Regions from separate parts of the Homo sapiens genome. Here all the other regions are linked to region 1. Evidence: promoter capture Hi-C in 16 types of primary human blood cells and fetal thymus (Javierre and others, 2016). All regions are on one chromosome and are shown on one strand. Each heading gives the region's core, a stretch centred on a gene start or on the middle of the fragment in contact. The rest is flanking DNA. Distances are from core to core; before and after follow the strand shown. Region 1 holds the start of HS2ST1 (heparan sulfate 2-O-sulfotransferase 1). Region 2 holds the start of SERBP1 (SERPINE1 mRNA binding protein 1). Region 3 overlaps LRRC40 (leucine rich repeat containing 40). Region 4 holds the start of AGL (amylo-alpha-1,6-glucosidase and 4-alpha-glucanotransferase).

Region 1 (3,505 bases), core at 1,006-3,505:
TTATTACATATGGAATTAGTTAATTCCATAAATACCTCCTATCCTGGTATGCACACTTTGCAAAGTGACTCTGTCATTCCTCCCATGTAGAGATGAAATCTATTTCTCCATCCCTGAATGTGAACTAGTCTTGTGACTTGCTTTGAGAAATATGTGATGGAAGTAATATATGTGATTTCCAAGGCAAGGCTTTAGAAGGCATTGTAGCTTTTGCTCTTTTGGAGTGCTGCCCTGAGAGTGCCATGAAAAGAAGTTGGTCTAGCCGACTGGAGGATGAGAGGTCACACGGAACAGAACCAAGTCCTCGAGCTGACAGCACCAACTATAAACAGTGGTAATCCTGGAACCTTTCGGTTTAGCTGACCTACTAGGTCAACAAAAAGCATAAATGAGGCCAGGGGAAAACCAACATAGGTGGAGTAGTTCTACTCCACTGACCCAGAATTATGAGAAATCATTGCTGTTTTAAGCTACTAGGTTTTAGGGCGGTTACACAGCTATAGACAACTGACAGTCAAAGACAGAGGGAGATCAAAAAAAGACAACCTGAAATGTTATCTCGAATGACCTAAAGATGTGCAAAAACCCTTAAACAGTAGAAAGTTTAGGGAGAGGTGATCCAGTAATTCCTAGCACCAAATGCCTGAATAACAAGATAATTGGAATGTTAATTACAGAAGTTAAGAATCTACCTTTTGGTTAAAGTAGCCAAAGCAAACAGCCAGGATGCTTTCAAGCTCTTTGAGAAAGGTAAGTACAGGTGTTCATAGAGGACTCCGGTGTAGTCCCTTAACACCCTCAACCTTGGATAAGTAAATTAAACCAGGTCTCCTTATTAGAGACTACCCGAAGAATTAAGCTAGGATAAAAAAACGTAAAAGCTTTCAGCACTGTGCCTAAAATTTTACTATTCACACAGCAGAACATGGATATGAGAAGAAATAAGTTAAAAGTACACTTTTCCCATTCAAAGGTCACCCATCTATTCTGCCAATAGAGAAAAATGAAATAAAAAACGCTGCCTTAAAGAAGACAACGAACATCATTTAAAAAACTAACTTCAAAAATGAATTATACTTTGGTATAGATAACTCCTTTTACTCCAACAACATTGTTTAAAAGCACAAATCGCACTCAAGCGCAGCCAGCCGTATATGAATAGCAGAGGAGAACGGAAGTTAAGAGACTAACAGAAGTAGTGAAAATGAGAGAGCACGCGCGCGAGAGAGGTAAACACAAACTGTTCGCCTGGACCAACGACTTGAAGACTTGCCTCTAAGAGTTGGAAGTCTCGTCATGAGTCTCTTGCATTTCTGTCCATTTAAAAACAACCTCCACTTCTTGCCAAGCTTTATTATTCCCCCCTCCCACCTGGTGTGGTTTACAGATTGTTTTTAGCAAGAGCCGTATAAGAGAAGCTACGTACCCAAGACAATCTGAAATCAAGAGAAAACTGCTGCTAGAAACCCAAGGCGGGGAAGGAGAAGGATCAACCGAGAAATTAAGCCACGTTGCATTCTGGCCGCAGCAGTCATTAAGGAAGCGCAGTCCTCCCCACCCTTTTCAACCAGGACCGAATGTTGCGTCTTTCTCAGCTGCAATCACTCCTACTCTCCCTGTGGCAGCTGCGAAGGTGATCTACACTCACCGCTTGAAGCACAGTCGCCAACAACAACCGTAGCCCAAACGCCGGCACCAGACACCCACTCGGCCCAGCCGCCATCGCTACCATTTTCCGCAGGTTTCTGGCTGCCTAGAAGGACCCCTAAGCTAGGGGCGTCCACTCCAGAGCCTGATCCAAAACAGAACGCTAACGGCCGTTGCCCTTACATCTCTCATTTGGAAGTGACAGGTATTAAATAACGGCATATGAAAGCTTAAAAGTCATCAAATACAATCACTGGGTGCTTTCGATTACCCAAATCAGGCACTTGCCTAAACTCCCCACTTCTTTACTTCTGCGGTCTCCTTTCTTTTATTCACGACACTTCGTCAAGCAGCCAAGAAGCCACGCCTTCGCCAGTTTTAGCCCCGCCTTCTTCTCCAAGTTTACCCAATTGAATGTCGTCTTGATTGAGCTCTGTGGCAGAGGAAACCAACCGTAAACCGAACCAAGAGCGAAGCGCAGGGGCTCTTCCGTCCAATAAGCGGACCCGAACGGGGGGAGGGGCGGGGCTTCTGGTTGCCGAGCAGCGTACGCGGATGCGTGCGCGTGGTGGCGGAGGGGGATGGGCGGGGGCGGGGATGAGGGCGGCGCAGCCGCAGCGCCGGTGGAGGGGCGCGCGGCCGCGAGCAAAGGAGGGAGGGAAGGAAGGAAGAGAGGGAGGCGGGCAAGCAGGCGGGCGCGGGGGTCGGGGACTGAGGCAGTAGAGGGAGGCGAGAGCCCGGCAGCCGCTTCGCGCTGTTTGCTGCGCGGGCTTTTGGAGGGGGCGGCCGTTTAGTCGGCTGAGGAGAAGCGGACACCAGCGGCGTTGGTGATAGCGCCTGGGGGAGGGGGACTGGAGAGGCGAGAAGGGGGGTCGCTGCGGTGGTTCTCTCGCTGTCGCTCTCTCTTTGCCTCGCTCCCGGCTCGGCGGGCTCCTCCCGGCGTCTCTCTCGCCTCCGGGGTCCCGCTCCCCGCCCCCCGCGGTATGTCTTGATCCCGAGCAGCGGGTTTCATGGGGCTCCTCAGGATTATGATGCCGCCCAAGTTGCAGCTGCTGGCGGTGGTGGCCTTCGCGGTGGCGATGCTCTTCTTGGAAAACCAGATCCAGAAACTGGAGGAGTCCCGCTCGAAGCTAGGTGAGGAACTGAACTGCCCCGGGCTGAGTGCTGTGGAAGGGGCCGAGGAGGCGCTGCCGCCGGAGCAAGTGGGCGTTCATCTAACCTGGGGTCTGGCTCGGGGGCTGAAAGCGGTTTCAAAGAGAACCGGGAACAAGGGGCAGCGAGAGCACGAGCTCCAAGAATGGGTTGAATTAAGCTTGAGCGGCGTGCTGGGCTCGCGAGGTCACGGGGCAGAGGTTGCAAGGTTGGGCTTCCCTAGCCAAAGGGTAGCCCCGAAGTAGGCATTCCGCGGAGAGAGAGCGAGAGAGAAGACCGAACTCAGTGGGGAGCGTGTGTTGCTGGTCTCCGGAGACAGAAGCGCTTAGCATCGCGTGTTCTCTTGGAAGTCGTACAGGAAGCCCTGGCAATGTCAGATGAGGGGTATTCTAATTTGAGCTATGGGCATCTGGATACGAATTCTTTTGGGGGCTCATGAAGGGATAGGTGCGCAGAAATGGGAGGAGATGCTGGGATGACGGAGAGCAACATGTGAACACTGTAGCGAGTTGCACTCTTGTGCTCCGGGCAGCAAAGGACCTTGTAATTGCCAGCTGAGGGAGGCTGGCCGGGTAGTGCGGGAACGCGAGTGCAAAGCTTCATCGGAGTACGGAAATGAGGGTCCGGAGATTTAAATTCTTCTTTAGTGGCGCTAAACTGATGAATTGGGGCTTGAGAATAGGGATGCCTATGTATGTTGCTTCAC
Region 2 (3,505 bases), core at 340-2,839, about 19 Mb before region 1:
GTTAACTGGAGCCAAACAGTAACTATCAATCTCTTCAATAGAATTTTGAAGTTCATTCCCTGTAAATACTCAAGATAGACTACAAATATTAGACCTTACACCAAGGTATTTAAATAAATGTCATCAGTAATAAAGTGCACTGGGGTGGAGTTATGGAACCAGTCCTTGCAATAATATCCAAGCCAAACACACCCAAGTGAACAATAGTTGGCGTCCCCACCCAATATCAAGTTTACAGAATCTTAAAAACGTATTAAACCTACCTAATGAAAAAGACTGACATTTAAAAATGCAAGCTTCTTTTGATATACTTATCTATAACTTGCAAGCTCACTAACTGCACTAGTTTCAAGGCATTCATTCTTTTTTAGAAAATCCCTGGTCTACACTCTCAATGACATTCTGCTGTCAATTCTCAAGTTCTTCAAATGGGCAAGAGAATGTACAAAATTAATTCATAAAACATAAACATTAAATATCTGTCTAAAGTATGTCAAGTATTATGTCACAATGTGTTATCAAAATCACAGAACACAATCAGGTTAACCTTCCTACTACATGCAGCGACTTTGTTTACAGATTTATTCCCAGTAATCAGGACAGTAGAATCTCAAAACGGGTATTGTCCATTCAACACTTTTCCTGTATTTTACATGCTTGTATTTTATGCAACTTAACAGTAGTGCTCTGAAATACTGACCTAAGGAAAATGCTGATTGCTAACATGGAATAGTTTTCCCATGGAAAGACTCATTGAACGGTGAACCTAAGTCTTGGTTCTAACTTCATGAAATCATTCCCCACATTTGTTAACTTAAAATACTACTTTTCAGGTAAGAGCTTATTTCATAGATGGGCTTCATGATCAAAATAACTCAGGCATTTAAACCATGCTTCATGTTTTGAACATTCAAAATGAGTGAACACATCTACCTGGTACACATTATTCGTCAGATTCAACTTTTTCGTGTACTTTCTTAAGCTTAAGCATAGTTTAAATAATTACACAAGTCAGCGTTACTTAACACACGAATTAAATGATTTATTTAATTGTGCTAGATTGCCATAAAGCTTAACTGGCTGAAGAGATACTTGGCCTAAGTGATATACATGCTTTCTAATACTCCAACTGTATTTTTCCTCAACCTATAATTTTACCACAAGAATTAATTATTTTCTTTTATTCACCACCTAGGACCGAGGTTCTTCATTCCGAGCCTCACAAAAGTCCTCAAAAAAAAAAAAAAAAACCCTCCTAAAACAAATCCTACCACGAGAAAATTGTTTTGATTTTTAAAATTAGTTCACTGTTACAGAATTCAACTAAAGCTAAAGAGAAACAACTCCTTTCAGAGAAGCACGTGGCAGGAAGGGGTAATTTCAACTTTCAACATATAAATGCAGCTTTAAAGATTCAGACCTTAGGTCCAACACCTGCTTGCTATTGATCATGCACGTTCTTATCTCCAAACTGCTTGCTCTTTTTTTTCATCCGCAACAAACTGGTAAAGCGAATGCAAAAATCAAGACAATCCTGTGAAACTCACAGTGCCCTAGAAACAACTATTAACCGCCAGTGAAACTCTGACCATGCTTCACGCACATGTGGTGGAAAAAAAAAACTGCGAACTCTAAAGAGCTCTGCTGCGACTAACGCTGTGACAGCCTCTGCACTCACTTCACCCACGAGGCCCAGACCCCACCACGTGAAAGATTCAGTTTGGGGAGTCGAGAGAGAGGATCGTGACTCGAGGACGTTCCTCGGGATGTCCTGCAATCACCAGTCTTCATTCATAATTCCCGCTCCTGGTTAATCGAGTGTGGCCAAACTCCTCCATTTCCCAACGGCTCAACTCACCCCAGCAAGTTATGAGAAAGTCCTAACAGTTGAGAGGTGGAAGAGAAACAAATAAAGGACATGCGGCACCCCAACCTGCAGCTTACTCCACACGTCTGATGGCCTGGAACGACCCCCTGCTTTTCAGCGGGGATACTCCGCGCCGTCGTGGGACAAGACGGCAGGACAGGAGCCTGAAACAACAGCACCTCAAAGGAGCAGCTCTGCGCAGTAAGCAGCGATGGACCCCCAAGCTCCTCCGTAACTACGGAAAGCTTCGGTGAGGGGCCGGCTTCCCCGCACCTCAGTCCATGCGCTCACCCGCCAAGGAATCCGGCGGGAAGGCAACAGCCTCCCAGGACCTCGAGCGCGCTCGAGGAGCAGCTCATCTCCGACCACGCTCCTCTGCTCACAACCTGAGGCGGGAAGGGGATGGCTCCGAGAACCTCGCCGGCGGTGGCTTGAACTTGGGGCTACCACGCTCCTGGCACCTTCGCAGGACCGGACTTTTGTCGCGTGAAGAAACGTGAGGATATAGGCGGCAAAGTCTCCCGCGGACCCTCGGAGCTCCAGAAACAAGTGGCAGCCGGCAGCCCCCTCGCTCCTTCCCTCCATCCCAGTCTCCCCCACATTCTGCCCCTGCTTTACCTTCTTTCTTAAGCGCCACGGGCGGCTGCGTCTCCTCTTTCTTGTCAACCACGCCAACGCTGGGGGGCAGCGGGTTCTTGCGGTCTTTCTGGGACTCCTTGCGCAGCTGTTTGCCTGCCGCGTTGGAGTTGGTCTGGGCCGCGGCCTGAGCTGCGCTCTTGGCCCCAGGGCCCCCAACGCCGCCCCCGCCGGCTTCTTTTTTCTTGTTCTCTGCTGCCTTCAGCACCTCGAAGGGGTCCGATTCGTCGTCAAATAACTGGTCGAATCGGTTGGTGACCACGCAGCCGAAGCCTTCCTGTAAGTGCCCAGGCATGATGGTGGCTCGGCGGCGCGTTCCTCCACGGATTGCAGCGGGCCGCGCCGAGCCAAGAGCGCCTGCTTCAGCTCTTCCCACAAGATGGCCGGGCCGAGAGAGGGGGGCCGTCTTCTCTTCCGGCGCCAGGCACACATCCGGGAGCGGCCTGCGCCGCAAGGCACTGTGGGGTATGTAGGCCAGAGTCATTTCTCCTGAGGCGACTCTCCGCGTCGGGACTACAATTCCCAGGACGCACCGCGCGACAACTCTTCGCGCGCGCCTGAGAGGCGAGACCCCATGAGGGGAGTGAAGCGTGCGGGCTGAAGGAAGGGAAGCGTGGTGGTGGGCGGAGTCCTGCCACCTGCTCTGGCCACCCTTAAACTCTCTAGGTCTTCAGCTACCTTGAAACCAAAAAACCGTGACGGCGTAACTGACTCGCGAAAGTGCTCTTTGGTTTCACTCACGCCCCCTCGGGCTCAGGGCTAACTTTCCCCACCGCTCCAGGGGGGTCAAGGTGACTCCCAGACCTTACATCTGAGACGCACAAACTTCCGGGGGAGGGGGTGTTGCTGAGGCGCCGCGCCGGCCGCGGGTAGGCTGGACCCTGCCTGTGCCAAGTCCGAGCTGCTCAGTTGCTGGAGTGGCCCTCCGTCAGCCTCCACGGTGAATCGAGGCTCTTCTGTCTAATGTGAGGGGGAATACGTTTCCTCTCGCGGGGACATGAA
Region 3 (3,505 bases), core at 273-2,772, about 17 Mb before region 1:
ATTAAACTGTACACTTAAAATGGATGCAACATACTCTTTGTAAATGATACTTCAATAAAGTTAACCCCAAAAAAGAATAATTTTAAAATATAGGTGATGTAACACATCAAGGCAATTCTATCGGAAAAATATACACATATAACATATATCACAGGGTAGATACAATATCCTTAAGCAGCATGGCTCAACAGAACTTTCTACAATGACGTAAATGCCCTACGTTGGCACTATTCAATAGGATAGCTACTAGCCACATATGGCTACTGGGCACTTGCAATGTGGTTAAAGTAACTGATGAACTTGATTTTTAATTTTATTTAATTTTGATTATTTAAAAGTTAAAAAGCCAACATGAGTACAGGCTTCCACAATGGACAACATGGTCCTTATAGATACTGGGGGGCGGCGGGGGGGAGGAAGATGTATAGATGTATTTTTTTATTTTATTTTATTTTTTTTTGAGAGCCTGTCACCCAGGCTGGAGTACAGTGGTGTGATCATAACTCACTGCAGCCTCGAACTCATGGCTTCAGGAGATCCTCCTGCCTCCGTCTTCCAAGTAGCTAGAACTATGAGGACTACAGGCATGTGCCACCACATCCAGCTTATTTTTTGTAGAGACAGGGTCTCATTATGTTGCCCAGATTGGTCTCAAACTCCTGGTCTCAAGTGATCCTCCCACCTTGGCCTCCCAAAGTGCTGGGATTATAATCATGGGCAATCACACCTGGCCCCCCCAACCCCCGGCTTTTTTTTTTTTTTTAAGCAAACTGTCTTACTCTTTTTTCCACTGGTAACAGCTAAATATAGAAATGAGGACTCACAAATGGGTTGATCACAGAGAACTATCTAGTTTGGGGAGGACATTTATATGATATGGGTGGATAAAGAGACAGAGAAGAAATAAAAAACATGCTTAAAATGGTGTTTGCACAGAAGGATAAAAGAATGTGGCTGGGTGCAGTGGCTCATGCCTGTAATCCCAGCACTTTGAGAGGTCAAGGCAGGTGGATCACCTGAGGTCAGGAGTTTGAGACCAGCCTGACCAACATGGTAAAACCCCATCTCTACTAAAAATACAAATTTTTGTATTTTTAGTAGAGACGAAGTTTTGCCTTGTTGCCCAGACTGGTCTTGAACTCCCAGGCTCAAGTGATCCGCCTGCTTCCACCTCCCAAAGTGTTGGTATTAAAGGTGTGAGCCACAGCACCTGACCCCGTGTCACACTTTTTATTCTGTCCCAACAAACTATACATATTGAATAGGGCAAATTCTCATTACCCTAAAATAGTAGGTTTTCTTCATGATTAGGTGCCCTAGACCAAATTACTTAACTACACAAATAAAAGCTAACCAAACTGCTCTCTTCAAGATAAGGCAGGATAGCCTTACACCCATATTTCCCTTTCAAATAATTGGTTTCCAAGCTAATTTAACTGGCTTATTTAATGAATTATCCTCTTAATTTGCCTTTCAGATCAACAGTGCAGTTTCCATTAGAATTTACAGTATTCTTTTGTTCCAAACTCTGGCACCTTTTATTTTTCCTCAGTTTTAGATAATCATCCAATAACATTCTTGCACTACTGTTCTACCATGGTCATGCAACTGGAAAGCAACGATCAACACCTCCAACTCCATCTTCATTTTATCTAGTCCGACGAAAAAGAGCTGCAATATTGAACCAAACTGACAACATATTCTCATGTTGCTGCTCATAAAAAGAGCTGTCACTTACATGTACAGTATTTTTCTTTGAAGTTGGTTATTAACAATTATTCCTATTTGAGAATATCTTTCTAAATAAGTTATAGAACTGACACTCAGAATGATTACTTAAAAATTGCGAACAAAATTTGAATGTTTAAATATGAATACATATTAATTAATAGTAGTCATAAGATGGACTATTATACAGCCACTAAAAATAATAAGATTTTTCAAGTGACAAGGAAAATGTACAAATAGAAGCCAGAAAAACAGGAGTCAGTACAATTCTAAATTTGTTAAAAATAAAAAATAGGGCCAGGCACAACAGTTCATGCCTGTAATCCCAGCACTTTGGGAGGGTGAGTTGGACAGGTCGCTTGAGCTCAGGAGATCAAGACCAGCCTGGGTAACATAGCAAGACCTCATCTCTACAAAAAATATAAAAATTGGCCAGGCATGGTGGCACATCCCTGTAGTCTCAGACACTCAGGGAGCTGAGGTGGGAAAATCACTTTTGAGATAAGGAAGTCAAGGCTGCAGTGAGCCGTGATCTCACCACTGCATTCCAGCCTGGGCAACAGAGTGAGATCCTGTCTCAATCAATAAATAAACTAAATTAGATAAAAAAATAAAAAATAGCAGTCAAATTATACATAGTCTCACACACACACACACACACACACACACACACACACACAGTATTAGAAGAAAAACCTCCACAACATTAACAGTGACTAACTCTGGTTGGCTTCTTCACTTTTTATGCTTTTCTCTATAGATTCTAATCTTTCTACAGCAGACCTGCTTTTATGAATACGAAAATAATAAATGGTATTTTTCAAAAAAGAACTAGAGCCTACAAAAACAAAGTACAGTTTATCCTCGCACAATATGGGTTTGAATTGCACAGGTTCACTTATATATGGATTTTCTGCTGCCTCTGCCACCCGTGAGAAAGCAAGACCATCCCCTCCTTTTCCTCCTCCTCCTCAGCCTACTCAATGTGAAGATGAGAATGAAGACCTTTATGATGATCCACTCCACTTGATGAATAGTAAATATATTTTCTCTTCCTTATGATTTTCTTAATAACATTTTCTTTTCTCTAGCTTACTATTGTAAGAACGTAGTATATAATACATATAATATACAAATATATGTTAATTGACTGTTTATGTTATCAGTAAGGCTTCTAGTCAACAGTAAGCTATTAGTAGTTAAGTTTTGGGGGAGTCAAAAGTTATACATGGATTTTTGACTGCACAAGGGAGTCAGCCCCACAACCCCTGAATTATTTAAGGGTCAACTGTATACCTAAACACCCCAAAGAGTAACCAGGTTTCAGTTATGGGTAAAAGTTAATACCCTCAAGACTTACTCTACCCAAATAAGTTTAGGTAGAGTAAACCTCTTTATCACTGTACTGGACTGGGTTAATAGTCTAGTTAACAATCCTATCAGGTTAATAAAATCTCTCACTGCCCTTGTACGGCTTCCACTAAGAAAATTTCTATTTAAGGAGGCTACCATCTAAGAGCAAGAATCAACAGAATTTTAACTGTTTTTCATTATATATGTAAAAATTAAAGACTAAGTTTTGTTTTCCCAATGTAGAAATATCAGGAATGGGGTCAGGTACAGTGGCTCACACCCATAATCCCAGTACTTCGGGAGGCCAAGGCAGGAGGATTGTGGACAGAGGGAGTTTGAGACCAAGCTGGGCAATATAGCAAGACCCCATCTCTGCGAAAAATTTCAACATTAGCCGGGCACAGTGGTGCATGCCTGTGGTCCT
Region 4 (3,505 bases), core at 725-3,224, about 13 Mb after region 1:
GGTTCTATCTTCAAAATAGTCCAGAATTCAGCAACTACACCACCTGCTATACCACCTCCCCCCCATCACCCCCAACCCCCCGACACAGAGAAAACACACACAAGTCACTTTCTCTTGCTTGAATAACTAAAATAGCTTTCTAACTGGTCTCCTTGCTTCCTTCCTTGCTACACTCTACAGTTTATTCAACTATTTCCCATAAAGTTGCGGAGCGATCCTTTTAAAAGGTCAATCAGATTATGTCACTCCTCTGTTCAAAATCTCCATGGCTTTTTTTCCAAAGTTTAAAAGCCCAAGTCCTTGCAATGGCCTACAAAGCCTTAAAAGATCTGGTCACCCGTCTGTGCTCCTGATCCCTTCTCCTGCCCCATCTGTCTGTCCTAATCTCTTACCACTCTCTTCTTCACTCAGCTATGGTGATCTTCTTCGGTTCACCAAGTATGCTCCTGCCTCATGGCCTTTGTACTTCCTATACCTCTACATGTAACCCTCTACCTTAGACTTCTTCTTTCTCGCAGTTTGGCATCACTTTACTGAACGTTATATTTAGAAATGCAAACCTCTCTCTGCTTACTCTTCCACACTTCCCCCTTCCTATTATATATAGGATATAACATATCCTTCTTATTATATAGGATATATTATATCCTGTATAATTTATTTAATTTATCTGTCTCCCACCAATAAAATGTAGGAGTTCCTTGAGGGCAGTGACTGTTTTATTGCTGCATTCCCAGCACCTTATGTGCCTGGCAAATAGTAGGGGCCAGAAAATGAGCTGTGGGTTCCCAAAGTCAGTTACGGACCATTTGCAACTAGCCATTCTCAGAAATCTACAGAAATAAACAAATACTTCAGTATGGGGTTTTTTTTTTTAACTTATATCCTCTTTGGACCTACAGTCATTCCACAATAAAGAATGCAAGAATCTTCTCCACACGCCACAAGTCTTAGTTAACCAAATCTTCTGTCCATTTTCTCATAACCATTAGGAGCCCTCCAAAAGCCCTGGAAGATGGGTTTTCCTTTACCCTCAGGCATTAAATCTCCTTAAGCATCTGCAAAAAGTTCTGAGTTACTGGCCTAACATAAGTGCAGCTTAATCTCAGACGATCTCCGGGTCTATCTAGTGTACATGAGGTACACCCGGACACCGTTAAGTATCAGTGGTGTTTGCACTCTCGATGGTTTGCAGACTGGCCACACCTTACCTACTGGGTCTGCATTCAGGAACATGTGTCCTGTCTGTTAGCACTAGAAGTGATGGACACGTGTTGGCTGGAATGTCAAGGCTGTAGCCAGGCCCCTTATTTTAGACACTTAGAAATCAGGACTCTGAGAACTTAGGCCAAGTAAAAATTATCAAAACAAAGAAACAAAACACGTGGTGGCACAAAAGACACCAGAAGCCAGGTCGTTTGCCCCTCACCATTCAGCCCTTCCCAGCAAAAGATCCTACTGTGCAGCTCAACCTAGCTCGCAGCCGGTACCGCGGGATTTTAATGTGCAACTGTGAGCTCGCAGGCTGTTAAAGGAAGGCCGCGCCTTGGCCGGTGCACCTTCCCCAGGGCAAGGAGAAAGCGCCGCTCCCGGCCTCAGCCGCAGCAGGCTCCAGGTCCCCCGGCCCGGAGCCGACTGAGACGGTGCGGTGCCCACGCTCTCGCGAGACTAGCGGTCGGGGCGGGCGGGTCGAGCCTCCCGGAAGTGGGCCAGAGGTACGGTCCGCTCCCACCTGGGGCGAGTGCGCGCACGGCCAGGTTGGGTACCGGGTGCGCCCAGGAACCCGCGCGAGGCGAAGTCGCTGAGACTCTGCCTGCTTCTCACCCAGCTGCCTCGGCGCTGCCCCGGTCGCTCGCCGCCCCTCCCTTTGCCCTTCACGGCGCCCGGCCCTCCTTGGGCTGCGGCTTCTGTGCGAGGCTGGGCAGCCAGCCCTTCCCCTTCTGTTTCTCCCCGTCCCCTCCCCCCGACCGTAGCACCAGAGTCGCGGGTCCTGCAGTGCCCCAGAAGCCGCACGTATAACTCCCTCGGCGTAAGTGCTAGGAATGCCGCTGGCCTCGCGGGGAAACGCATTCTTTCTATCTATAGCTCGCTCTGTACATCTTCTGTCTACGGCAGCTATTCCAGAGGCAACAACTGCTTCCCTCTGTTCTCATCTCCCCATTGGTGGCTGGCGACCCGAATTTGGGAATGGGGAGATTGCCCACCTGTTATCTTTGAGCAGACTAATCTCTTGTAAGCAGAAGTGCCATTCGGAGTCTCCAGAGCCCTGTGGCTTGGGGCTGGGAATGTCCCCCTGACTTCAGGCTTTCCTAAGTGTATTGCTTTTCTCTGAGAATGGTCTAGGTTTTTAATTTTTTAATTGTAAGAATCTGTAATACAGCATTTTTATTTCGGTCTTATTCGTTGTGCTCAAAGGCAGGAAACAACTATTAATTTGCCTTCTCGAATCTTAATAGTTATAAGATTCATTCTCTTTCATTGCTCTGCTAGGCATAAAACACACTTCGAACATGTAAGTGCCGCTGTCAGCTCTGGAGAGTTTAAGGCAATAGTTATTTTCGATATTTTAACTCCTTTTTGTTTCATAGGGGTAACTCATTCGACTGTGGAGTTCTTTTAATTCTTATGAAAGATTTCAAATCCTCTAGAAGCCAAAATGGGACACAGTAAACAGATTCGAATTTTACTTCTGAACGAAATGGAGAAACTGGAAAAGACCCTCTTCAGACTTGAACAAGGTCAGTAGCAAGTTGTTTTGATTTGCTCATTTGCGTCTTTTAAACTTTTAATTCATTGGCAGTCCTGTTAAATGTTTTAAAGCTCTAAGATAAATATTATTTCCAAGGGTCTAAAACTTGATTTGTGCAAAGATGGTGCTGTGTTCTCCATATATCACTAATTAATGTTGATTTGAATTAAAAATATTTTATATCCCTCGTGTTAGGATAAGGATAAAATAGTTCTCTTTTCTCTGCGTACTAATTCCCACTTAAGATTGAAGTTAAATATATGATCAGAAGATTGCCCATATTATTTCTAATAACATTTACTATTAAAACTTGGTAAATTACTTCATATGTAATTTTGCTTTGGGTATGCATGTAGTTTTGCCTTTGTATAACTGTCTCTTTTCCTTTGTTGAACCTTTGAATTGACAAAATAGATTGCAGCAAAAAGTATAGTAAACTATTGTTTATGTATATCAAAAACTTCTCAAATGTGGAGTAGGTAAAAGCTGAAAATATTTTCTTAGCAAATAAAAAGTGCAATAACTCATCTGGTTATGTTGAACTATATATAGTTGATCTGTATTTAAAAGATCAAATTACTTTTCTACAAGGCTAGTTAATAGATGTTTTATTTTCTTAGCCTTTGTAATTTTTCAACATTGAAGAAGTGTAATATATGAAAAATCCAGTCCCCCTTATTAATGTACCAAATGGATGTTGCTAGTCATAAACATTTCAAAGGAATTTTTAAATTTCGCTAATGTTTTAAGAATTAA

What was found. The method cuts DNA at HindIII sites, captures the fragments that hold promoters and counts their contacts. A CHiCAGO score of 5 or more calls a contact.
Region 2: a fragment that was not itself captured here is called in contact with the fragment with the promoter of HS2ST1 in region 1 in 1 of 17 cell types (non-activated CD4 T cells); the score reaches 8.2 in non-activated CD4 T cells.
Region 3: a contact is called between a fragment that was not itself captured here and the fragment with the promoter of HS2ST1 in region 1, in 3 of 17 cell types (non-activated CD4 T cells, total CD8 T cells and activated CD4 T cells). The highest score is 12.8, in non-activated CD4 T cells.
Region 4: the fragment with the promoter of AGL here is called in contact with the fragment with the promoter of HS2ST1 in region 1 in 1 of 17 cell types (non-activated CD4 T cells); the score reaches 8.2 in non-activated CD4 T cells.

What each region holds. Positions count from the first base shown.
Region 1 is chr1:86,912,380-86,915,884 of GRCh38, forward strand. It overlaps HS2ST1 (heparan sulfate 2-O-sulfotransferase 1), which reads left to right and starts at 2,256. Exons shown (of 7, transcript NM_012262.4): 1 at 2,256-2,781. The coding sequence starts at 2,658. It overlaps SELENOF (selenoprotein F), which reads right to left and starts at 1,747. Exons shown (of 5, transcript NM_004261.5): 1 at 1,649-1,747. The coding sequence starts at 1,732. RefSeq lists enhancers at 1,044-1,658, 1,507-1,556, 1,659-2,273, 1,667-1,826, 1,877-1,996. The HindIII fragment of the contact is 1,083 bases long and covers 1,875-2,957 here.
Region 2 is chr1:67,427,503-67,431,007 of GRCh38, forward strand. SERBP1 (SERPINE1 mRNA binding protein 1) reads right to left here and starts at 2,900. Exons shown (of 8, transcript NM_001018069.2): 1 at 2,486-2,900. The coding sequence starts at 2,798. RefSeq lists enhancers at 1,437-2,073, 2,709-3,344, 2,782-3,051, 3,262-3,341, 3,372-3,505. The HindIII fragment of the contact is 1,041 bases long and covers 1,070-2,110 here.
Region 3 is chr1:70,196,846-70,200,350 of GRCh38, forward strand. All of the region lies in intron 1 of LRRC40 (leucine rich repeat containing 40), which reads right to left. Among named protein-coding and RNA genes, the nearest start is that of LRRC40, 7.0 kb to the right of the region's middle. The HindIII fragment of the contact is 4,461 bases long and covers 1-3,505 here.
Region 4 is chr1:99,848,387-99,851,891 of GRCh38, forward strand. AGL (amylo-alpha-1,6-glucosidase and 4-alpha-glucanotransferase) reads left to right here and starts at 1,975. Exons shown (of 34, transcript NM_000642.3): 1 at 1,975-2,029; 2 at 2,589-2,738. The coding sequence starts at 2,657. RefSeq lists enhancers at 1,121-2,095, 1,296-1,445, 2,096-3,069 and a silencer at 1,626-1,945. The HindIII fragment of the contact is 4,640 bases long and covers 1-3,505 here.